Linked DNA regions of Homo sapiens: all the other regions are linked to region 2. Evidence: promoter capture Hi-C in 16 types of primary human blood cells and fetal thymus (Javierre and others, 2016). All regions are on one chromosome and are shown on one strand. The core of a region is centred on a gene start or on the middle of the fragment in contact, and the rest is flanking DNA. Distances in the headings are between cores, read along the strand shown.

Region 1 (5,215 bases), core at 1,467-3,966, 890 kb before region 2:
CCAAAACCTATCATAAATCACATTGTTAGACTGTCCCACAGCCAAAGCCCTGAGGAGTGACACTCTTATGTTGCAGAACATTACAAGAGCCTAGAGCTAGGGGCAAAGGTCAGACCTCTCATTGGGTAAGGTTGATTATACACTAACAACTGCCTTCATTATTTGTTTATACCTGTATCTGTTCTGACCAGATAATATATGCACATAGCACAAAATTCAAAATATATATGTGTGTGTGTATGCGTGTGTACATGTGTATATATATACGTACATTCTCACATCTGCAAATAGTAATTTTTTTTTTTTTTTTGAGACTGAGTCTCGCCCAGTCACCCAGGCTGGAGTTCACTGGCGCGATCTCAGCTCATTGCAACCTCCACCTCCCGGGTTCAAGCAATTCTCCTGCCTCAGCCTCCCGAGTAGCTGGGATTACAGGCGCCTGCCACCATGCCAGATAATTTTTTGTATCTTTAGTAGAGACGGGGTTTCACCATGTTGGCCAGGCTGGTCTCGAACTCCTGACCTCATGATCCACCCCCCCCCCACCCCCCAGCCTCCCAAAGTGCTGGGATTACAGGTGTGAGCCACCACACCCAGCTACAAATAGTAATTTTTTAAACAGTCATAGTTATTATTAAAATTTGCACTATACAGAATTTTCTGAAAACACTCTGAATGCTCTTAAATATGAACTTATAAAAAGAAAAATACATTTAATGGAAAAACATGTTAATCTCTTTAACTTCACCATTACTCTGCGAAATCTAACAATCGAGTCCAGAAGGCTATTTTAAAGGTATTTGTGTACATCTCTTGGGACTTTCCCTAATGTGCAAGTCCAAGAGCTTCAAAAGTGTCAGCCTCAGAAAGACTAACCTATAAAATGAAGAAAGACATTGCAGCAAGCCATCTCAATTTAGGTATAGAAGAAATATAACATATTTATACATTTACTAATTATGATAGTGAATACAAAAAATACAAACATTATTTGATGAAAATCTCCCCTTCTCCCAAAATATATTGTGCAAAAACATGTCTTTACACACTTCTAGAAGACTGACCACTGACAGATGACATGGCATTTAAAAAATGTTAGCAATTGTAATTCATAGAAAGTAAACAAAATAAAATATTTAAAAAAATTTTTTTTATTCCAGTACTGAAAATGTTTCAAACGGATTCTTGTTTGGGTGGAAAGTAAAAGGAGACAGTGATCACTGACTAAATTGCCATAGCACAGTAGTGATGAAAAGACACAAAATATGGGGCACTGAATGGTTTCTTTTTTTTTTTTTTTGAGATGGAGTCTCATTCCGTCACCCAGGCTGGAGTGCAGTGGCGCGATCTTGGCTTACTGCAAGCTCCGCCTCCCAGGTTCACGCCATTCTCCTGCCTCAGCCTCCCGAGTAGCTGGGACTACAGGCGCCCGCCACCACGCCCGGCTAATTTTTTTTGTATTTTTAGTACAAACAGGGTGTCACCATGTTAGCCAGGATGGTCTAGATCTCCTGACCTTGTGATCCACCAGCCTCGGCCTCCCAAAGTGTTGGGATTACAGGCGTGAGCCACCTCGCCCGGCCGAATGGTTTCTAAAAAGCAGAAGTACACAATTCCAGTTCAATTGCTTGTGTAAAAAGGTGATTATTGTTTGTTTGTTTTTTAAAGAAGTCATATAAAATATAAAGTCAGGTCAGCATTAAGCTTTTAGTGTACAACTTGCTTGAACCTTTATAAAAATGGTAAACGAGCAGCTTTACTTTTCCTACAATGTTGTTCTATATTACAGTAATATATTCATAAAGAAAGGAAGTTTGCACCAGGCGCAGTGGCTCATGCCTGTAATCCTAGCACTTTGGGAGGCTGAGGCGAGTGGATCACCTGAGGTCAGGAGTTTGAGACCAGCCTGGCCAACATGGCAAAACCCAATTTCTACTAAAAATACAAAAAAAAAAAAAAAAAAATTAGCTGGGCATGGTGGCAGGCGCCTGTAATCCCAGCTACTTGGGAGGCTGAGGCAGGAGAATCACTTGAACCCAGTGGGTGGAGGTTGCAGTGAGACGAGATCGTGCCCCTTCACTCCAGCCTGGGCAGAAGAGTGAGACTCCGTCTCAAAACAACAACAACAAACAAAAAAACAAAAAAGGAAGCTTGCCACTCTTCTGCTATTCTAAGAATAAACATGTGGTTTACATTCTTGTTTTCACTGATCCACATGTACCTTTTTTTTTTTTTTGGTTACATACTTTCTCTCAAAATAAACTTTTCACTCAGGTCACCAAAAAATCTACCTGTAGATGATGTTAAATGGGTTCCCAATCTGTCCTTTGCATTCAACTCAGGGAAGCATTCTTTCATGTTATTATATTGTTTTTATGCTGTATTTAGATACAGTTTTAAATAAGCCCCCACATACCTTATGTTTCTGTGGTAAGCAAAAATAATGAGACGATGGGGGAAAAAATGAAGCTCTATAAGACTGAGCCTTTGCACGAGAGTTGTGTAATCTTAAAATAATCAGATCTCTTTGCCACTAAAATTCACGTAAGACTTGGAGTGATGGCTCTTCAAGACACTGGATTAGCTGATAGGCCACTTGCGCAAGGTATCTACAATCAAGGAAAAGCCCTTTACTAACATTAACACCATCTCAAGGAAATGTTTTAAATTTATGTCCTTATCTCAAAAATTTCACGTGAATACTTTTCCTCTATATAGGCAGTATTGTAGGAAGAAGTTTTGTAACTTCCTGTCCAGTTTTTCATATGGCATTATAAAACTGGACTCAAGAGATCAAAATTTGTGTTTTCTAGCCCCTTCAACACTAAATCACCATTAGAATGGTTTACGGTTGATAATTAACTGCTGTGTTTTAAGAAAGGGATGTGTTGATTGGCTTTCTTGTATAGTCCTTTCATTTACAATCACCTTCGCTACTGCTCAAATAGCTGGTGCTCCAGCATTAAAAGTCATGATTCACCCTTTCTAGTCCACATCAAAACTTACTTCCCAGCATAGCCTCATTGTCTATATTCAAAGGTTTCCAGGGATAAACAGAGTAAGTTTTTACGGACTTCTCACTGATATATGTAACACACATCATATGATTCATACACTGTACAGCAGTGGTTTTGTCTGAATAATACCATCTAGAAGGCAAATCATAGGAATTGTTCTTCCACATTGTCACTGAATTATGTAATTTATCAACAATACTTTTCCAATAGCATTTGTTCCCCCTGATTATATTTGTTATTACTGCTAACACTTTTTACAAGCTTCTCAGCAACAATGTCTTATTTTGTACTTTGTTTAAAGGAATACAACTCTGGGTGATGTTTCTGTAATTTTGGATTCATCCATAATATTGCATGACAAATTTTAAACTGAGACGTGAAGTAATTACCTAACTAAATGCATTACCAGAGAAATTAATGTACTTTAAAAATGATGTGATAACTTTGATGGTGACATGTAGATATTTGACAGGCAATGTACTGACCAATGGTGAATGGAATGCAGGCCAAAAAAAAATAAGTTCAGATAGTCATTATCCTTCCTTATCTGTATCAGCTGATGTCTGAAAACATCATACACACAGAATCTCTTCTAAAGCACATACTTTTTTTTTTTTTTTTTGCGAGACAGAGTCTCACTCTGTTGCTCACGCTGGAGTGCAGTGGCGCAATCTCTGCTCACTGCAATCTCCGCCCTCCGGGTTCAAGAGATTCTCCTGCCTCAGCCTCCCCAATAGCTGGGACTACAGGAGACTGCCACCATGCCTGACTAATTTTCGTATTTTTAGTAGAGATGGGTTTTCACCATATTGGCCAGGCTGATCTTGAACTCCTGACCTTAGGTGATCCACTCACCTAGGCCTCCCCAAGTGCTGGGATTACAGGTGTGAGCCACGTGCCCGGCCAAAAGCACATACATTTTCTCATTCTGTATTCACACTGAAGTTATTTCCATTGGAGCATTTTTACGAATGATATTTGTTACTATTTTCATCATTTTTCAATAAGCCAATTTTGTGAATTGGGAAAATGAGTATCAAATATAAAATGTAAATTTAACAAGCATTAAAATTAATACGAAAGAACATTAGTAAGGTGAACATCCGGTTAACCTCATGTTGGCTGAGGTTAAAACTGACCTACAGTCTTCACTGTGTACATAAGCATCTACAATAAACTAACACTTAAAAACTTAAGGGGATTGTCATGCAAATCATCTTACATTTAAAATGTGCAAAATATGTGAATTATGTGCATAAGATTTGCAAAATATATGTGAAAGATGTGGGAAAAAGTTGCATTTTTTTCTTTTTGAAATTGCAAATCTGTTGAACAGACTACCAACAATCATTATTTTGTAAGCAGCATTGCTCTCTACTCCAAAGGTTAAGGTCTTACCCACAATTCAGACAGATGTCCAAAGATGACAATGGTTAAAATAGTAAGAAGGGCATCAATGAGAGATCAGAGAAGTATTTTCTAATAAAATATTTATTAAACAGTAAAAAGTACTTATACAAGTTAAGCAAAGTGCAAATGATATATGAACTAGAACAAGCTACTTTTCGTACCAGTGCCTCCTGTTGAAACGCCCAACACAAGTGCTCAATAAATGTCCACCATATTGAAACACATTTAAGAGAGAACACTGGCCTGGGCACGGAGGCTCACAGCTGTAATCACAGCACTCTGGGAGGCCAAGGCGGGTGGATCACAAGGTCAGGAGTTTGAGACCAGCCTGGCCAACATGGTGAAACCCTGTCTCTACTAAAAATACAAAAATTAGCCGGGCATGGTGGAGCATGCCTGTAATCCCAGCTACTCAGGAGGCTGAGGCAGGAGAATCGCTTGATCCTGGGAGGCGGAGGTTGCAGTGAGCCGAGCTTGTGCCACTGCACTCCAGCCTGGGTGACGGAACAAGAATCCGTCTCCAAAAAAAAAAAAAAAAGAGAGAGAGAGAACACCAATGCAATCTTAAAAATCAACTCTTTTGCCCAATCCTAAACTTGTGCTCTAGCATAATGTTCCTAAAATGACAATTATGGCTTACATTCTGCAATTTCTCTTAATTCTTAGGAGTCTATTGATGCCCAGTAATTTTGTGGTTGCTGTGACAATTCCAGCATTAGAGTTCTTGACATGCTTAAATTTTCTATTGTTATCTTATTTCTGTATTCCGGGCTCTTTCTTTCATAAAT
Region 2 (5,123 bases), core at 2,425-4,924:
TGGGCATTTGGGTTGGTTCCAAGTCTTTGCTATTGTGAATAGTACTGCAATAAACATACATGTGCATGTGTCTTTATATTAGTATGACAGGATTTTTTCTGGGGTTATATATATTTTTCTCAAGATGTGGTTTTTTTTGAAACTCAGAGTATTTAAAAAAATCAATCCTTTGCTTAATTTAAGAGGAAATACGGTGAATAAATCAGGCTAAAAACACCTGGCGAAGACTTCTTTTCTGCATATTTTCTTTTATCATCTTAGATTGAAGTAGAATTTTCTTCTTATTTATCTGGTAGTTTTCAAATTGAGCTACAATTTTCATTATTATCTAAGTGATTATAAATGAGCTCTAGAAACATACAGAATATGGCAGCTTAAAATGTCAATAGAAAATTTCTTAAGGTGCCAAAATAACAAAACAAAAGTAAAAATAAATAAATAAGCCTTTGGATAAGGTCAAATTTTAAAGTCTGAAATCATTAAAAATGCATGCAAAAAATGAACCACATGTTTAGCTCTTACATAAAATACTATGTATACCAAGGTCCAGCATAAATTTAAAAGATGAGACATTAAGAAAATTTTAATCATACAATGATCAGAGCAATGAAAATTAAAATTTTCAGTGTATTTGTAAAAGACACAAATGGATAATAAAATTGAATGGCCTTTAAATAAAAGGATAAAATATAGAATCTGTTAATTAACAAAACGATAAATACAGATAGCAAATATAAACCTGAAAACAGAGCATATCAGCAATCAAAAATGCAGATTAAAATATTAAAATATTATCCTATCAGATTAATAAGGCATATATATTTACACATTATTACTAACAATGAGAATGCCAGACAATTGTGGATTTTACACCACTAATGCTAGTGTAAGATGGTATAAGAGCATCAGTCATATTTTAAGGGTGTCTTCCAAGACAATGTTCTATCCCTCCTTGTCTACAAACATCTGAATGTATCCAGGACTATCCTACCCATTCATAAGTGTGGACCACTGGGAACCATCTTTATACTTCTGGAACTTACCAAAAAGTTATAGCCAATAAGAGTATTTCTCTCGGCCCAGCGCATGGCTCACATCTGTAATCCTAGCACTTTGGGAGGCCGAGGCGGGTGGATCTTTTGAGGTCAGGAGTTCGAGACCAGCCTGGCCAACATGGTGAAATCCCATCTGTACAAAAAATACAAAAATTAGCCAGGTATGGTGGCAAGCGCCTGTAATCCCAGCTACTTGGAAGGCTGAGGCAGAAGAATCTCTTGAACATGGGAGGCAGAGTTTGCAGTGAGCCAAGATCACGCCATTGCACTCCAGCCTGGGTGACAGAGTGAGACTCCCCAAAAAAAAAAAAAAAATTATCATAAATGTCGACTGAGAAGCTACAAGATAGTCTGTTTGCCTCCTTGAAAGTTTAAGGCATGATCTAGAGATTTTTGAGGTGAACATGGATGGAGAATCAGCCTAGGCTGTTCTATAGAGAAGGAAAAAAGTTTGAGACAAAAAAAAAAAAAAAAAGCAGGTAGGAGAGTCAGAGAGGTGTGCCCTCATTTTCTATTCAGTCTGTCTCTATGGCCTGACTTCCTTCTTTTCTGTGAGTGCCAAGAAACTCCTGTGTCTCCTGATAATAAACAATTCTTTTTGCTTGACTTACTCCTGATATTTTACATCAAAATCATAATATAATTAATTATTTGAAAATGCAAGTTAGTAATGTTTTCAAGATGTTAAAAGTTTGTAAGACTTAAGCTTAGTAATTCTACTTCTAAGAATCTATCTTAAAGGGGTACATTCCAGATAATCCTATAGATATATTGTATCGTAGAAGACTGTAATGGAAACATTTATTTCCTGGCTTTACCTCATTTTAACAGAACAGGTGTTTAATTTTTAAAAATGATTATGGAAGAAATTCTACGATTGCAATTTAAAACTTTTTAGATATCATGGTAAATAACTGGGAAAATTTTATATTGTTTGCTAGGCAGGTTTTATGGTACTTCATAAAGTATCTTCAGTATACTTCATAAAGTATATTTTTCACATACTTTACCAACATATTCCAATGACTTTATATAACAATAGTAAAATTATTAAGGGACATTTTCAAATTACATTTTCTATAAATATCATTTAGCTTAATTTTTAACATACATGATACCCAATAAACACACTTTTATTTAATTTTCTTAACAGAAACTCCAAATAGACATACTGAAAATCACCTTTTTGTATATGTGAAGTCTGAAAATGATCAGAATTCTGCAAGGGTATAATAATGCTTTTGATTACTTGAAACTTTCTCTCATTAGAAAAGACTAATAAAGCTTCAAAGATATAGAATTCAGAATGAAAAAATATGTCATTTTTAGAATAAATATTTTCATTCCATATCTAATGATTTAGGCAAGCTTTTACATATTTTCCTTCAAAATATCAGCTGCTTACTGACAAAGTGTTCAAGTTTTTGAAAATGTCTTATCAATATTAACATGAAATTTGATACAAAGCAACCAATTCCAAATTATCTTAAAACATTCCGTAGTACAAAATTAGTGTCTACTCACATCAATAATATCTATTCCTGTTCGCTTACTTCTATTTGCTATATTACCTTAATATACAATACATAAATAGTATTTTATTTACTCATTACATACTCATAAATCATGATCATTGTAAAGTTTTGATGCTGTTATTTATCTTTGAAATAGTTGGCTGTAGCATATTATTTTTTTCATTCTCATATAAAGTCAATATATTTTGTGTGAGAAGTTTGCATCTAGTTAGCAACTACCATGGTTATCTCAGGCTTTGTGGCACAGAGTCTAGCTTAGTGAGAATGGCAAGGTACATAACTCACATAGATGTTGTGAGATTTGCATGACGTAACTGTATAAATACCTAGAATACTGTCAGCATCTAGTAACAGCTTACTAAATATTGGGTTCTTGAGTGAATTGAAATCGAGGTAAAGATAACAATTACCCATATCTTAGTTGTATTTAACTTTGGTGCAGTAGTGGTTGCGGTTCTTGCCATTAATGCAATCACTTTTGCACCAACCTATCATTACTACATTTTATCCAATTTTTTTCCATTTTTCACTTATAATATAGTAAAACTTATATTGGTTGTCATCGTTTTTAAAAGCTGTGCATTTTTGAGTATGAATCATTAATTGACAACATATTTTCTCATGTTTAGTATTATATGCTTCTCTCATAATCTTAAATATTGTTTCTTAAAATTATGTATAATACTATGCACTTCTTTTGTTTCATGTTTTATCGCAGATTTAATGAGAAGTTGTTTAAAAAAATCTCATATTTATACATTTGCAATTGTGTTAGTAGCAAAAAGATACCTACTATTTTTCAATTGATTGTGGCATTATTTTTTTGAGGGACGTGTTTTCAAAATTGTTGATTCCTCTCTAAAAGGTCTGAACTACTGAAGTTGTCAAATAAGGTTTCAGATTTCTCCCTTCCCCTCCATCTATACCCCAGAATCAGCTTCCTTCTCTGCCATGGATTATGTTTGGGGTAAAAAAGGAAGACGGTTCAGATTGATAAAGCAATACTCCTGGGAAAAGACTATTAACATGTATAAAGGGATTTCCTTGCAGTATAAATACTAGCGCGCACCCTCCTGGTGCCTCAGAGCCTTCCTGATGTATATATGCAGGTAGTGAGAATTGAATCGGCCCTTTGAGACAGTAATATAATAAAACTCTGATTTGGGGAGCAGCGGTTCTCCTTATTTTTCTACTCTCTTGTGGGAATGAGTTGCCAAGCTTTTACTTCGGCTGATACCTTTATACCTCTGAATTCTGACGCCTCTGCAACTCTGCCTCTGATAATGCATCACAGTGCTGCCGAGTGTCTACCAGTCTCCAACCATGCCACCAATGTGATGTCTACAGGTACTGACTCCTATGACAGTTTACATATGACCGGGCCTAAATATTTCAGAATGAATGCTTTGAATCTTGATAGTTAATAATCTCTTTGCATCTTTCATTTTACCCCTCCAATTTAATTTGTCTTAAGTGAAGTAAGCATTAAGCATATCTAAAAAGCCAACATGCCAAATAAATTTTAAAGAAATATTAGTAAGTGTAGTAATTTAAAATCACTGTTGGCTTTGTTGTAAGGAAGAAAATCTGTTTTCTACATAAGAAAAGAATGAACTTGGACATTTTAAATCTAAAAACCTTTTTAATGGAAATATTTATAGAATAAGGAGCAAATGAAATGAATATTATAAAATAACAATATTTAAAAGGTGCTACTTCTTTATCTTAAAGGTTTATTCGGTTGTTAAATTACATTTACTATCTAAAAACAGCTATAAACCTTATATTAAACACAACAGAACAATCTGAATATCAACAACAATGGATTTCATAGAATAAAATAGAGTTTTAATTAACATATTTTAGCATAAGATACAGAAATTATAGCAAGAAATAACATGACATTTAAAGCCCATTAACTAAGGTAAATTTTCTCAAAATTGCATTCTGAAGAGACTTACTTCACTTCTAAGTTTTAACATTTATCTCACATAACTTTTTAGAACAAAAATTAAACCTAAGAATTCACAGGCTCAACACAATCAGCCAAATACATATGTTTTGCCAGTGTGTTCATTCTTTATGCAGTAACAAAGTGTTTTAGAGTTGATTTACAAATGGAGAAAGACTTGAATTGGGTAAATTTCTTCCATTGAATAGCAATATAATATTCACTTTCCACTTGTTTTAAATGCAATTTTTCTCATATTTAGGAATGAAATTATATACATTTAGAAATCAAAGTTTGAGTTGATACATTATTCTGATTTGAAGGATTTAAGCTCTATCTTTTGTTATTATTAAGCATTTTCTAAATACATGCGTAAGTTTGGCACCAATCTTCTGGTGGATTTTAAAGAATCTAGAGGTCAGATATTTAGACTTTGGTAAAATCATTTAATGTAGAGATTTTTCAATATTACCTTTTAAATTAAATTTCAGGAATCCGCCAAAGATTTCTGTAATTTAATTTAAAGGGTAATACAGGAAGTATCCTCCAACATAATTTTTGGAAGACACAATAGTTTTTATC
Region 3 (5,465 bases), core at 813-3,312, 760 kb before region 2:
CTGAAAAGTGCTTTTTCCTTCATACCTGTCAATAAAGACCATTTGAAGCAGTTTGCTTTTAGCTGCCAAAGCCAGAAATATATCTTCATGATCCTACCTCTCGGGTCTCTCAGCTCTCCAGCCATATGTCATAATTTTGTTCACAGACATTTTATTGTCTTGCCCTTTTATAAGGGATCACACTGGTCCATGATAGTATGTTAATTGGACCTAGTGGCCAAGAAGTAGCCACCACCCTAGATGTATTGGTAAGACATTTGTATGTCAGAGAAATAAATCGGACACAAATTGAAGGCCCATAAAGTCAAGAAAACAAAAGACAAACAAAATAGGGGAAAAATAGTGATCTTCCACCTCAATGACATTCCTCAGGGTCTATTGGTGTGGAATATGCCAAGATATTCCTTCTAAGATGGAGGATAAGTTGTTGCTTATGGCCCCTCCTACAAAAAAAAAAAAAAAAAAAGCCACAGTGCTTCGTGGGCCTCTTTGGATTTTGAAAGCAATACATTCCTTATTTCGATATGTTACTCCAGCCCATCTAGTGAATGATCGGAAAAACAGCCAGTTTTGTCTGAGACTCAGAACAAAAGGAGGTTCTGCCACAGATCCAGGCTGCCTTGCAACTTCTTTGCCAGGGCCATATGATCCTGCAATCCAGTGGTGTTGGAAGTGTCTGCAGCAGATAGGGAAGCCATTTGGAGCCCTTGGCAGGCCCCTAGAGGTGAGTCACAGTGTAGGCCCTTAGGATTTAGAGCAAAGCACTGCTATCCTTTGCAGGTAACTACTCTGTTTTTGAGAAATAGCTCTTGGCTTGCTATTAAGTCTTAGCAGAGGCTGACTGTTTAGCCATGGGCAACCACTAAGTTACCGTATGAGCTGAGTGGCCCATCATGAATGGAGTGATATCTGATCTACTTAGCCATAAAGTTAGGTGTGAACAGTAGCACTCCATCATCCAATAGAAGTGATAAATATTTAAATCAGGTATAAGTATCTTACATGAATAAGTGGTCAAAATGCTCACGGTCTCCCTACCTGCTACATTACCTTCTCTCTCCCAGCCTGCACCTATGGCCTCACTGGAAGTTCTCTACATTCACTTGGTGGAGGAAGATAAGATTCAGGTATGGTTTACAGATAGTTTCGCATAATATGCAGGCACTAGCCCAAAGTGAACAGCTGCAGCAATACAGCCCTTTCCTGGAGGCTATGAAGGACCAAGATGAAGGGAAATCTTAATGTGCAGAATGTTGAGCAGTGCACCTGGTTTTTCACTTTGAATGGCCAGACATGCAATTATATGCTGATTCATGGGCTACGGCCTGTGATTTGGCTAAATGGTGAGGGACTTGGAAGGAACATGATTCGAAAATTGGTGACAAGGAAATCTGAGGAAAGGATATGTGGATAGACCACTTTAAATAGGCAAAAAACGTGGAGATATTTGTATCCCATGGGAATGTTCACCAACATGCGACCTCAGCAGAGGAGGATTTTAGGAGTTAAGTAGACAGGATGGCCTGTTCTGTGGATACTAATCAGCCTCTCCCCAACCATCCCTGTCATTGTCCAGTGGGCTCATGAAAAAAGCGGCCATGGTGGCAGTGATACAGGCAGGTGGGAGGAGGGCAGGGTCCCTGGCAAGGGCCCCACCCTCAAGCCTAGACCTGTGGCCCTAAATAAGAACAGGCATTCCTGTTTTTGCCCCAGACATTGCCTTTGGCCCACCACAGCCCCCTATCCTCTGTCCATATAAACCCCAAACCCCAGGATCCATGAGCAGAAAGCAGCAGAGTGGTGTGGCAGAGAAGTAGAGAAGAGAGAAAGCATCTGAACATCAAGAGGAGTTCGGCTGGGGGCAGTTGGAGAGGGGATTGGCCAGGGGACGGCCAAACTCCAAGGGAAGATCATCTTCCCACTCCATTCCCTCTCCAGTTCCCCACCTCCATCACTCAATAAAATCCCCACATTTACCATCCTTCAAGTCCAAGTGATCTGATTCTTTCTGGATGCAAGACAAGAATTTGGGATGTATTGGGTGTGGGAACCCAAAAAGGCTGTCACACTGCCTTTTTACTGAGCTGTTTAACACTTAAACTGTCCCCAATGGCAGGGCTAAAAGACCACTGTAACACCCCTAAACACTGCTGTGAGGCTGGATCCCAAAAACACTTGCCCTGGCCTCTGCACCTGCTCACCTGCATGCTCCTCCTCCCATAAGGGGTTTGAGTGCATGGTGGCCGAACAAATGAACCACACCTTGGTCGCACGTCCCATGAGGGGTTCAGGGAACTCTCCTGTTTCAGCAGGATGGAGGTTATGTATGGGTTCAGTAGCATAAAATCCCACCAACCAAGGCCAACGTGGCTATAGCCACCACTGAGTTCGCAGTCTGCCAGTGGCAGAGACTAACACTAACAGGCACAATTGCCTGGGGTGGTCACCCAGCTGTCTAGTGGCAGGTTACATTGGACCTCTTCCATCATAGAAGGGGCAACATCTTGTTCTTACCAGAATAGACACTCTTGATATGGATTTGCCTTCCCTGCACACACTGTTTCTACCCAATCTATCATCTGTGAACTTACAGCATGTCTTATACACCATAATAGTATTCTATACAGCATTTGTTTTCATCAAAGAACTCAACTTACAGCAAATAAAGTACGGCAATTGGCGCATGCTCATGCATTCCCTAGTATTACCATATTTTTCATCATCTGCAAGAAGCTGTCTTAACAGAGTGGTGAAATGACCTTCTAAAGACAGAGTTCCAGAACCAGCTAGGTGGCATTATCTTTCAAGGCTAGGACAAGGCTCTTCAGAAGGCTTTGTATGCTTTGGATCAGCATTCAATACATGGTGCTGTTTCTCCCATGGCCAGGATTCATGAGTCCCAGAATCAAGGGCTGAAAATGGGAGAAGCACCATTCACTGGTACCCCTAATGACCCACTAGCAAAATTTTTGCTTCCTGATTCCTCAGCCTTATCTTCTGCTGGTCTAGAAGTCTTAGTTCCAAAGAAAGGAATGCTTCCACCACGAGACACAGTGAGTCCATTTAACTGGAAGTTAAGACTGCCTCTTGGGCCCTTTGGGCTCCTCATGCCTATGAATCACCAGGCAAAGAAGGGAGTTAGTGTTCTGATGGGGGTGACTGATCCTGACTACCAAGGGGAATAGAACCATTACACAACAATGGTGGTAAGGATGAGTATGTCTAGTCTACAAGAGGTCCCTTAGGGTGTCTGTTATTACTGCTATGCTCTGTGATTAAGGCCAATGTAAAACTGCAACGATCCAATTCAGGCAGGGCTATTAATAGCTCAGACTTTTCAGGAAGGAAAACTTGGGCTACCCACTATGTAAAGAATTATGGCTGCTTAAGTTTTTGCTGAAGGCAAAGGGAATACAGATTAAGTAGTGAAAGAAGGTAGTCAAAAATACCAGCTATAGCCAAATGGCCAGTTACAGAAATGCAAAATGAGGACTATAATTGTAATGAATATTTTCTCCTTATTTTGTTACAAATGTGTGTGTGTGTGTGTGTGTGTGTGTGTAGATAGATGGATAAAGCAAATATTTTTGTTTTCTTCCCTCATCCCCCCTCATCATGTAAAATAAGATGTGTTGACTTTACATCATTGTATGTAAGTTACAGGACATCAGGGAGAAGAGTTAACATCATTTCAGGACTTTATCTCCTCTTCTAAAATGTTAGTGTGTTTCTGGTTGTACACAGAATAGTTTTATTATGATAGGAGGAAATACGACCTTGTTGTCTTTTTTGAGATTGAGTATGGTTTAAGGACACGTATATGGGTACCAAGTTGACAAGGGGTAGGTTTATGATAGTTTTATGTGTGAATTGAGTAGGTCATGGGGTGGCCAGCTATTTGGTCAAACTTTATTCTGGGTGTGTCTATGCAGGTGTTTTAGGATGAAATTCACACTTGAATTGGTGGACTGAGAAAAGAAGATTGCCCTCCCTAATGCGAGTGAGCCCTGAATAAAACCCTGACTCATGCATCACTCAAGTAAAGCCTTCCTTCTGGAGGATGGGGAGGCATAGCCTTGTTTTTTTTGTTTGTTTGTTTGTTTGTTTTGGTTTGTTTGCTCTTCACCTATGTAGACTTTTGAGTACTGCCTCACTTACAAAGTTCTTCTATTCAGGGGAGAAGATTGGGAGGAAAAGGACTCACACAGCTGCAAATGAAACCCAGGAAATCCACTTGTATCAGCTTCCCAGGGCTACTGTAACAGGGCACTACAAACTAGGTGGCTTAAAGCAACACAATTATATTTTCCCACTGTTCTAAAGATTATAAGTTTGAAATCAAGGTGCAGCAGGGTCATTCTTCTCTGAAGCCTGTAGGGCAGAATCCTTCCTTGCCTCTTCCTAGCTTCTGGTGGTTTGTGGGCAATCTTTGATGTTCCTTGGTTTCTAGTTGCAGGAATTCAATCTCAGCCTCTGTTGGCACGTGGCATTCTCCCTCTGTATGTGGACCTAAATCTCCCTTTTTATAGGGGACCCCAGTCATATAGAATTAGGGCCACCCTAATGACCTCATCTTAACTTGATTACATCTGCAAAGACTGTATTTCCAAATAAAGTCACTTTCTCTGGGATGGGGTCTAGGATTTCAAAGTATCTTTTTGGGTGACACAATTCAATCCATAACAGAACCTTCACTCATCAACTTAGAGCATCAGTCAAATAGTTTACCACATGTTTGACAAAACCAAAGGCATTCACTAACATGGGCAATTAGATGATCCAAGTAACCATAAGAGAACATTTAAAAACTGAATTGACTATCTTCAGAGAAGGTGTCATAGAGTAGGATAAAATATCCACAAAATAAGAACAGACAGCAATGACAAGGTGGCAATCAGAGGAAAACATAGTTCTTACAAATTAAAAAAAGTAAAATTTAAGAAACAGTCAATACCAGTGGAAGATTTGGAAAATAAAGTTACAGAACTCCCCCAAACTATAGAGCAAATGGCAAAGAGATGGCTACCATAAGAAAAAAAAAGTAAAAAAAAAAGAAGGAACAACTCTCCATACATAACGCTATCAGTTAGTAGTACCAAGAAGACAAAAAAAAAAAAAAGGGGGGAAATGAGGGGGATAGATAAACAAATATGTAACTGAGAAAAATTTCCCATAATCCCCTAAACCACAAGTATTGAGATTTCAGAGAGCTCTAAATGTTAAGACAAAAACAAACAAAAGAAACTTTTGCCTTAGACAATTATTTGTGAAATTTCAGAACTATTAGGACTCAAATAAATTTATAAAAGCTTCCAGAAAGAAAGAACACTGTCTGCACAGTAACTGGCTGTTGCAAACTCCAGGCAGCCCCATGTGCACGATATTCCCTGGCTTTGTGTCCCAGGGTCCAGAAAATGTTCCCTGAAGCTGAGCGGTGACGTAGCATTGGATGGGTATTATACTGC
Region 4 (5,168 bases), core at 155-2,654, 920 kb before region 2:
TTGCTATGTTGACAAAGCTGGTCTCAAACTCTTGGGCTCAAGTGATCCTCCTGCCTCAGCCTCCCTAAGTGCTGGGATTACAGGGGTCAGCTACTGCACCTGGCCTATAACTGAGCAAATAAAAATGTTTAAACTAAATGCCAAATATTTAGGATTCATTACGACAATTTTAGAGCACTACTTTAAGGAGAAAGCATGTCTGTAAAGACATGAATTAGATCATATAAATGTTCCAGATAAAGGACTTCAGTACATGAAATACCAAGTGATATTGTTGTATCTGCGGGACTAGCTACATTATGTGCTTGAAAGACTGATGACTAGTTAAAAAGAAAAAAGTAAACTAATTCCATTAATTCAACGGACGTAGCTAAAATAAATAAACATATTAGGCATTATCACTAAAATCACTGTAGCAAAGTCGTATCTAAAACCCAGAAACTTTGGAAGATGCCTCTGTCAATGGAAAAAATGAAACTAGACTGTTTGAATACAGTTCATTCATCCTGTGACTATTTCTGGAAACAATTGTTTGGTAAATGCCCAGGAGGTGAGAAAAATCTCTGAAAGAGTGATAAATAGGAAGGGAAGTAAAAAACAATCAAAAATTGGAACCAAATGTCACAATTAATTAAAATAGCCTTAGAAATACTGTTTCGAAACTAAGTTATACCTAGAACTCGAGTACTTTTTAACGGCACACCACATTCTGTTAAAACCACTCTCTCAATAAGTACCAGCGACCTACAAATCATTAAAGATAATCATTCCAGAAGGTTCTATTCCCACCAGTATTTTCTTCATTTTTCCTTTGGATGGAATTATAACTATATAACTTCTAATATCACCATTGAGCAGATACATGGTTCTCAGTTACTTTCTCAGTATCTCTGTTGGGATTGTACCAAACTCATGTTTAAAGCTTAACTCATTATCTTTCTTTTCAAAACCAGTGTATCCAGATATTTGTTTCTATTAACACTGTAACTATTCCACCATTTCACCTCAAAAGCTTAGAGTTATCTAAGAATCTTATATGCTGTTATAGTTTGGATGTATGTCCCCTCCAAATCTCATATTGAAATGAGATCCCCAGTGTTGAAAGTGGGGCCTGGTGGGAGATATTTGGGTTATGGGACTGGATTGTTCATGAATGGCTTGGTGCCTTCCCATGGTAATGAACGAGTTCTCACTCTGTTAGTTCACAAGAGAGCTGATTGTTTTGAGACTGGGACCTCCCTCCTTTCTCTCTTGTGTTCTCTCTTGCCAAGTAATACACTCGCTGCCCCTTTGACTTCAGCTATGACTGGAAACTTCCTGAGGCTGTCACCAGAAACAGATGCCAGCACTATGTTTCCTGTATAGGCTGTAGAACTATGAGCCAAAGAACTCTTTTTTTAATATATAGAGTACCCAGCCTCGGGTATTCCTGCATGGCACTGCAAAACAGACTAACACTCATGTCTTTCCCACACCCTGATCTTTCTTGTTCTTATCTCAATACTATTTCTATTTCTCACTCCCATCTTTTCTTTCCCGCTTTTTGGTGCCATCATTCTAGCCATGGTTACCTCTCCATTGTCTCTTGCCTGGAATATTGTAGTAGTTCCCTAAGTGTGCATCATACCAGACTCAGCATTGTTATATCTCAAGGCTTGACTTACTTGATATCATTTAAGTATTTTTAAATCACAAACCAATTCATGTAATTCTATGCTAAAAATCCCTAAATGTCTTCCCATTGTATATGAACAAAACAGAAAACCCTAATACTTAAAGGCTTTTCTGAAAGCTTATTCTCTACCAGTCTCCATGTTCCAGTGGAACTGGGCCATTCTCACATTCTTTGAGTTTACTCAAAGGCAGAAGCTCATGGTGCCTCTTTACCATGTCGTGCCTCTTCACGCCCATCTCTGCGTGAAGGCAGCTTCATCTCTTTGCTTCCTTGACCAGCCTGTTGTCTTCCTTGATTCCCTCCAGCCAAAGTTGGCCTCCCTATCCACCACCCAACTCTAATAGTCACTAATAAAACATATTTTGAAATATTTTACAGAGTGGAATATAACTAACAAATAAAGAATTTAAAACATAGTTGGGGATCTCAGTGTACCCTTCCCCAAAATAATTTCTCTCCCTCTTTCATAGAGGTAAACATGACCATAATTTTGATATTTTCCATTCATGTGAATTCTTTATAATTTTGCTGTTTACATATATACCCTAAATAATATATTTTAATATATTATTTTTAATTTATAAATTTAAAAAATAAAATTTATAAATAATAAAAATTATAAATATAATTTTTTTAACTTGTTGAAATGATGTCATGTTATCTATGTTACCTTACAGCTTAGGAGGATTTTAGGAGGGATGGGGCAGGGAGATGATTAACTCAACATTAAACCTTGCTGATACATGTAATCCTAACTCTTTTATTTTTACTAATAGAGAGTATTCCACTGTCATAGTATACAATTTAAATTCTTTATTTGCTACACAAATTCCTCTTCATACTTCTTATACACAACTACACAGAGAAACTTTGTTGATGGATATTTCAATTACTTCCGCTTTTTTCTATTACAAACAATATCACTAAAATTATTTCTTTGTGCATCATTTCAGAGTTTTTTCTGAGTTTATATAACTAGATGATAAATTACTGAGTTGTAAGATGTCTTTCAGTATTCATTTCTAACATCAGAAAACTGTTCCCATTGCTTCCCTTTTTCACCAAAACTTGGTATTTTCCTGGCTTCTGAATTTTTGTTTATCTGAGTGATACAACTTGTTTCTCACTGTAGTTTTAATTTATACTTTACAGATTATATATATAGTCAAAGGAGCTTATTAGTCACTTCTTTCTTCTTCTATATACTCTTGTTCTTATATTTTACCAACTTTTCCATTGTGTTGTCTTTTTCTTACATATATTTTAAGAGGTTTTTAAAGTTCTGGATGCTATCACTTTTATACTTTCAAATATCTTCATTTAATCTTGGCTTATCTTTGTAATTATTTTATTATGTTTTCTTCAGATACATACAATTTTTTAAAATAATACTATTATTGCTGTTAAAAGGTAAACTGAAGTGCAATAATGTTAAAGAATCGGGCGGGCGGGGTTGCTCAACCCTGTAATCCCAGCACTTCGGGAGGCCGAGGCGGGTGGATCACGAGGTCAGGAGCTCGAGACCAGCCTGGTCAGTATGGTGAAACCCGGTTTCTACTAAAAATACAAAAATTAACTGGGCGTGGTGGCGCGTGCCTGTAGTCCCAGCTGCTCGGGAGACTGAGGCAGGAGAATCACTTGAATCCGGGAGGCAGAGGTTGCAGTGAGCCGAGATCGCGCCACTGCACTCCAGCCTGGGCGACAGAGCGAGAATCTGTCTCAAAAAAAAAAAAAAAAAAAAAAAATTAAGAGTCTATTTTGGCAAACAGTTATTTATGAATCAGGCAGCTCCAAACTGAAAGAAGTGTTGTGCTCTGTTGAAGAAGTGTTCAAGACAAGATTTTAAAGTCTTTATTAAGGATTTTAAAGGATTTATTAAGTTTATAAAGAATATAGACTTAAAGAAACTTTTGATGAGTTACAGTTACAAAGTTTCCTTATTTGTTCTATCCCGTTGGAAAGTCCCTAGTAACATAAGCTAGTTGGCTGCTTCTGGTTGGTTAAGCTTAAGTTTTGTTTTTCCTAATAAAAGCAATTACAATAAATAGCCCAAGTTAAGTTTCTCTTACATTTGCAAAGCAGGCAAAGTTCAGGTCAATTATGAGAACTTGGGCTTTATTTGTTCAGGGATTCTTTGGACCTGGTCTTTGTTTTAATTTACTTTAAGATAGTTAATATTTATTGAGTGTCTAATTATCCTTCATACAAATTGAATCATTTTACACATGTGTTGTAAATTTAACAATATTTCCCTTTTGATTTATGCTTCTTTGTCTAATTTTTAAAATGCTGATTTTTCTTGTGATTATGCTGTTTTGCCTAATTTTAAAAATACTTATATTTCTTGTCTTTTATTTACTCCTTTATTTTCTTCTAAGAGACTAAAAATTTTATTTTTCACATTTAGTTTGTTAAACCATATATATTGAAGTGTTTGCTATAGGAGTTGAGATGTTTTTTTTTTTCATACGGATCATGAGTGGTACTAACAGCTAAAATTTTTTCTATTAAGTCTGACAATCTCTTTATGTTAACTTGAAATTCAGTCTATTTATCTTATCATAACTAACAATATATTTAAACTTATTGCTAACAATTTACTTTGTGCTTTCTGACAATTTACTTCCCACTTCCTTCATGAATTTTAACCCCATTTTCTGTTAATTTCATATTTCCTCTTTTCTTTTATGTTCTAGAAATTTTAAGTTCCATTTATTTTTGAGACCATTCTTAAATTATAACATGCATAAAGATAAATCAATACTCTTGAAAGAGTAAAGGATTTTAAATGTCTTGTTGGTCATATTTGCAGAAAAGAAAACCTAAATAGCACTTGACTTTTTTTTTTTTTTTTTTTTTTTTTTTTTTTTTTTTTTTTGTAATAGAGACAGGGTTTTGCTCTGTCGCCCAGGCTGGACTGCAGCATTACCATCATAGCTCACTGCAGCCTCAACCTCCTGGACTCAAGTGATCCTCCCACCTCAACCTTTTGAGTAGCTGAGACTACAGGTACATCCAGTTAATTTTTTTATTTTTGTAGAGACAGGGTTTCACCATATTGCCCACGCTGGTCTTGAACTCCTGGGCTCAAACAATCTCCCCACCTTAGCATCCCCAGAGTATTGCTACTTCTTTTACAGAATGTACTTTAAATTTCCTAATCGTATGGTTATTTGATTACATATTATCCAAAAGACTGTAAGCTCCTTTAGCATGTAAATCCTCCTACATTCTCCTCATTTTTTCTTTCCCGGAATGTCTTTTTAAAATATGTACATAAAGAAAACAACCAGAATTCATTTTCTCTTTAAGTCTCATTGCCGACTGTCCTAATTTCTCCTGGAGGACATCAAACCTGTACTGTACTAAACTTTCAGTGATATAAAAATAAAATAGGTTCAACAGATTAGGTTACTGCCATTACTCACCATAGTTACTTTAGAATGAAGGAAGTAGGAGAGTAGGGTGCCATTGACTTCAAAGAAATGAAAAC
Region 5 (5,413 bases), core at 1,089-3,588, 700 kb before region 2:
TAGCGTGGGCAACACGGTGAAACCCTGTCTTTACTAAAATACAAAAAATTAGCCGGGTATGGCAGTGTGTGGCTGTAGTCCCAGCTACTCAGGAGGCTGAGGCAGGTGAATTGCTTGAACCTGGGAGGTGGAGGTTGCAGTAAGCTGAGATTGCACCACTGCACTCCAGCCTGGGTGACAGAGTAAGACTCCATCTCCAAAAAACAAACAAACAAAAAAACCCAAAACATAAAACAAACCCGTAAGTGCTAGTGATGGTAGTGGTGGCCCATCTGGAGAGGTTGCTGCAAACAGACCAGCTGTGGCAGGTGAGGTGAAGGCTGGGCTGTGCACTTCAGGGAGCTGGCGGGAGCTGGGAACAGGTGAGAACCCTGCACCCTTCTGAGTTGGTGGGGTGGGAGCCCCACCCCCCCAGGTGCAGCAGCAGCCCCCCAGCTACAGCTGTGGACCTGGACATTCCTATGCTCTCAGGGTCATGGGAACCCTCCCTGCCCCTGCAGGTTCAGAAGTGCCTACTCTTGCTGCCTGATCTCTCCCCACTCCCAGCACCCACTCTCATTTAGGAGCAAAGTTGAAGCCGAGCCCGAGTGTTGTGTGTGTGCTTGAAGCAGTGATGATATGACAGCCCCCTGCCGCCTTGGCATCCTCTGGACTTTGGGCACTGACAAGAATGGGAGAGAGGCCGAGGGGGGACTGAGGGCAGCTAGGTGCAGGCCTGCAGATGCCCCTCAGTACAGCCTGAGCACCATGGATGATGTAATTGATGGTGGCAGGAGGCAGACAGGCTCCTGGGTGGAAAGGAGCAAGCCCCCAGTGAAACCCCATGTTCAAGCCAGGGATGGTCTGAAGCCTGGAGCCTGGGCTGCCTGTTCCATAGCCAGGCATGAAAACTTATGGTGCTTTTTCCAGGCCCACCCATGGCTGCTCATGGACCAGTCAGCATGCACTTCCTCCCTTCTGAAGCCCATAAAAACCCTGGACTTAGCCAGATTTGGAAAGATGACAAGATGACCTGCCCATGGATAGGAGCTACCCACTCTGGGTCTCCTCTCCACTGAGGGCTGCACAGATGTTGGGATGACCTGACTACAGGTAGAAGCTACCCACTCCAGGTCTCCGCTCTGCTGAGGGGTGGAGAGATGTCATCAGGATGACTGCCTGCAGATAGGAGCTACCCACTCCAGGTAGCCTGAGAGCTGTAATATTGCTCAATAAAGCATTCCTTTGCCTTGTTCACTCTCCAGTTGTCCATGTACCTCACTCTTCCTTGAAGCAGGACAAGAATTTGGGACCCACTGAATGGCAGAACTGAAAGAGCTGTAACACAAACAGGGCTGAAACACACCCTGCTGCTTGCCACAGTGTGGGCAATGAGGAGAGAAGAGTTGTGGCCTTTCCAGGAACACAGATGTAAGGGCTCCCTGAACCAGGGCTGAGGCACTCTCTTCGGGGCTCTGCAGTTCCTGGCATCTTCATGCTTCCAGGTGCTACTGCATTCTCCTCATTTAGATATGGGCGCCCACAGCAGAAGCTGCTTGCAGAGCATCTGATTCAGCTGCAGGGTTGCACAGAGGTGGCACCTGGGGCTGCCTGACCTGCCACAGCAGCCAGCGCGCCTGGCTATGTGCAGTAACTGGATCCCATGCTCACTTGCTCATGCACCCCTTGCTGCTCCACTCCATGCCTTGGAAGGCATGGGGTCTTGGCTGGCAGCCAAACTGAGAGCAGCCTGCCAGGCTGAGTGGGCAGAACAAGCCCAGTGGGCCGAGTAAAATTCAGGCAAAGGTGCTACTGGCCACAGAGGCTTCTGACTGGAAAAGTGACAACCTAAGGATCTTGTGACATTTTTAGGGGCTCATCCAGGATCTGTGGAAGGGTGAGTACTAGTGGATTTGCTGCTTTCTGTTCATTTTTCAGAGTCCCTAAACTCCACAGTCAACAGAATGAAAGGAAAATACTGGGTCTCTGTCGGCCAACTAGAAATGACTATCGTGGCTGCCGGACTTAGGACACAGAGGACAGGCTTGCCAGGGAGAACACTGTCAATCCCCCATCACCCTCTGGTGTTGGGAATGTGGGCTTTGTTCCAATCCAGTTTCCCTTCATGGAGGTCTAGCGGTTGTGTGGATTGGAAGGAGGTCCTGGGGCAACTGAAGGTATCTGGCTGAGGCTACTCCTTGGTATTATCCAAAGGCCCCTGGACTGACTTCAGTCCCTGACTGCCGATTAGGGTGTAGCACTAAGACCCTCAGTCTTTCCCATCTCCCTCCCTCCCTCCCTCCCTCCCTCCCTTCCTTCCTCCCTTCCTTCCTTCCTTCCTTCCTTCCTCCCCCCCTCCCTCCCTCCCCCCCCTCCCTCCCTCCCTCCCCCCCTCCCTCCCTCCCTCCCTCCTTCCCTCCCTTCCTTCCCCTCCAGTCCCTGATTGCCCATTAGGGTGTAGCACTAGGACCCTCAGTCTTTCCCATCTCTCTCTTTTCCTTCCTTCCTTCCTTCCTTCCTTCCTTCCTTCCTTCCTTCCTCCCTCCCTCCCTCCCTTCCTTCCATCCTTCTTTCCACTCCAGTCCCTGATTGCCCATTAGGGTGCAGCAATAGGACCTTCAGTCTTTCCCATCTCTCTCTTTCTTTCCCTCTCTCCCTCTCTCCTTCTAGGCCCACCCATAAACCAATCAGCACTCACTTCTTCCCTTCTGAAGCCTATAAAAATCCTGGACTCAGCCAGACTCACAGAGACATTGGGATGACCTGCCTGGGGAAAGGAGCTATCCACTCCTGGACTCCTCTCTGCTGAGGGCTCCACAAATGTCAGGATGACCTGCCTGCAAATAGGAGGTACTGGGTCTCTTCTCCCCTGAGGGCCACAGACAACCTGCCTGTGGATGGGAGCTAACCACTCTGGGTCTCCTGAGAGCTGTACTGTTGCTGTACTGTACTGAGAGCTGTACTGTACTGAGAGCTGTACTGTTGCTCAATAAAGCAGCCCTTCACCTTGCTCACTCTCTAGTTATCATTCTTCCTGAACTTCCAAGAACTCAGGACCTGTCAAATGAAAGAGCTGTAACACAAACAGGACTGAAACACAGCTCCCCGACTCATCAAGTTGTGGGTGATGAGAAGGAAAGAAGAGCTGCGGCCCTTCTGGGAGCTCAGGGAGTGGTGCACTCGAGATGACACCCTCTTTGGGGTCTCTGCGATTTCTGGAGTCTTCAACCTTCTGAGTGCCACCATGTTCCCCTCATCCAGAGGTGGGTGCCCACAATGGAACCTGCTTGTGGTGCATCTAATCCAGCTGCAGGCTTGCATGAAGCTGGCACCTATGCCAGCTCCTGGAGCTGCCCGCCCCTCTGCAGCTGCCAGCTTGCCTGGCTGTGTGCAATGGCTGGACCCTGCACTCACTCACTCACATACCTCTTGCCTCTATGCATCTAGCTCACCCTTGGCAAGCATGGGATCTGGGCCAGTAGCATGAGCTAAGTGCAGACTTCCAGGATGAGTGGGAAGAACAAGTCCAGTGGGTCTGAGTAAAACTAAGGCAAAGGTGCCACTAGCCACATTGGCTTGTGGCTGGAAAAGTGACACCTTAAGGATCCTGTGACACTAGATTTCAAGAAAAATTCATTTAAAGTGACTCCCCCACATAATAGTGTGTGTGAGCTCAGGAAAGTCATTTCAGCTTTAAAAGACTCAGCTTTGGTGGGGAGCAGTGGCTCATGCCTGTAATCCCAGCACTTTGGGAGGCCAAGGTGGGCGGATCATGAGGTCAGGAGATCGAGACCATCCTGGCTAACAAGGTGAACCTTGTCTCTACTAAAAATACAAAAAAAAAGAAAAAAAAAAAAGAAAAAAATTAGCTGGGCGTGCTGGCGGGTGCCTGTAGTCCCAGCTACTCAGGAGGCTGAGGCAGGAGAATGGCGTGGACCCGGGAGGTGGAGTTTGCAGTGAGCTGAGATCAAGCCACTGCACTCCAGCCTGGGCGACAGAGTGAGACTCCGTCTCAAAAAAAAAAAAAAAAAAAAAAAGTCTCAGCTTCATTATCTGTAGAGGGAAAAAATAAATGTCAAACATTATGAAGGGTTGTTGAAGATTACATATAAATCTGTTAGGTACCTGGCTTCTAAAAAACTTAATATTATTATTTGTCATCTGGAGTATAGGGCTAGCAACTCTACCTTTAGGATTGTGGTTAATGTTGATAATAGTTATGAAATAAGTCTAGCTGGGTAAAAAGCATTTCAATTTTTACCCCAGTCTTCCTTTGATGGGATCCATAGTACCATCACTGTCTAATATCAAGTTTTCTAATTCTACAATATGTAAGGGGATGGTGGGAGGAAATAATGTACAATTACCATACATGAGGAATGGTATATTCTCCTATTATGTAAGTTAAAATGAAAAACAGGTAATATGTTAGCAAGCTAGAGATGGAAATTTTGAAAGTTTATGGTCATGATCTTTTCCTCCGCCTTGACTACCCTTCCCTCTCCTTGAGTAATAAGCAAGGCAAATACTTCACACCATAGTGACATTGGATATAATAATGTATTATGTAAGTGGTTATCACCAGGAACTAGACAAAGAATCTGGATATTCTGTGCCCTTACTGGAAAGTTACTAAAAAGTTGATATTTAACTACGTGCAAGATATGAAAAATATTTTAAAACTTTTGTTTGTAAAGTTAGCTATCTGATAAATACCTTAATCTAGGGAAAAATATTGGGTTGGACAAGGTCTATCTCAAAATCAGGGGTGACAATAGCTATTTTTCTTAAACATGAATAAAAATATGTTAAATTATTTAGAAAAATATAACATGCTTAGGGTGTGTTAAAACTTATTGAAAGCTGTTGTGATGTTCAAAAGAAAATTAATTTTAGTGATGATATTTGATTTAACAACTTCAGTTTTTTTTAAGAGATGGGGGTCTTGCTATGTTGCCCAGACTTGACTTGAACTCCTCAGCCTCCTGAATAACTGGGATTATAGGTGTGTGCCATGGTGTCCAGCTAGATTTTTTTTTGATCCATAATAATTAGTTAATCAAGCTAAGCTGGCACAGTTTAAGCAATTTCAGGGACAACATATTTATTTCCCTCTCTTTTATTTTTGTTTTTTACTAGCACCAGGAACTAGACTGTTACTTATATTTTATACAAATGTAATTAATGGAACAAAAGGTATTTCACCTGATCATAATGTATGCTCTTCCATTGTATTCTATCTTTCTTTTGTAAATATGTTAAATTAAAAGTATTCATTCTCTTTTTTAATCTTTAATCTACTTTTCTCTTTTGATTCTCTTAAGCTTTATACTTAAAGTACATTTTACATCAGGTAGGCTTAATAAGTACCAGCTGATTAACTGAGTAGCATAAACAAGACAAATGATTAATACTGACATTTATCGGGCACTCA

What was found. Contacts are between HindIII fragments. The CHiCAGO score rates a contact against its expected background, and 5 or more counts as called.
Region 1: a contact is called between a fragment that was not itself captured here and the fragment with the promoter of POU1F1 in region 2, in 5 of 17 cell types (non-activated CD4 T cells, M0 macrophages, monocytes and 2 more). The highest score is 7.2, in non-activated CD4 T cells.
Region 3: a contact is called between a fragment that was not itself captured here and the fragment with the promoter of POU1F1 in region 2, in 4 of 17 cell types (monocytes, naive B cells, total B cells and 1 more). The highest score is 7.5, in monocytes.
Region 4: a contact is called between a fragment that was not itself captured here and the fragment with the promoter of POU1F1 in region 2, in 4 of 17 cell types (non-activated CD4 T cells, fetal thymus, total CD8 T cells and 1 more). The highest score is 8.0, in non-activated CD4 T cells.
Region 5: a fragment that was not itself captured here is called in contact with the fragment with the promoter of POU1F1 in region 2 in 4 of 17 cell types (monocytes, M0 macrophages, total CD8 T cells and 1 more); the score reaches 7.7 in monocytes.

The regions. Positions count from the first base shown.
Region 1 is chr3:88,165,748-88,170,962 of GRCh38, reverse strand. No RefSeq gene overlaps it. Among named protein-coding and RNA genes, the nearest start is that of C3orf38, 18 kb to the right of the region's middle. The HindIII fragment of the contact is 1,128 bases long and covers 2,153-3,280 here.
Region 2 is chr3:87,275,135-87,280,257 of GRCh38, reverse strand. POU1F1 (POU class 1 homeobox 1) reads left to right here and starts at 3,674. Exons shown (of 6, transcript NM_000306.4): 1 at 3,674-3,937. The coding sequence starts at 3,796. The HindIII fragment of the contact is 1,385 bases long and covers 2,426-3,810 here.
Region 3 is chr3:88,036,452-88,041,916 of GRCh38, reverse strand. No RefSeq gene overlaps it. Among named protein-coding and RNA genes, the nearest start is that of CGGBP1, 20 kb to the left of the region's middle. The HindIII fragment of the contact is 6,499 bases long and covers 1-5,311 here.
Region 4 is chr3:88,196,834-88,202,001 of GRCh38, reverse strand. No RefSeq gene overlaps it. Among named protein-coding and RNA genes, the nearest start is that of C3orf38, 49 kb to the right of the region's middle. The HindIII fragment of the contact is 780 bases long and covers 1,015-1,794 here.
Region 5 is chr3:87,975,997-87,981,409 of GRCh38, reverse strand. All of the region lies in intron 2 of HTR1F (5-hydroxytryptamine receptor 1F), which reads right to left. Among named protein-coding and RNA genes, the nearest start is that of CGGBP1, 80 kb to the left of the region's middle. The HindIII fragment of the contact is 5,935 bases long and covers 1-5,305 here.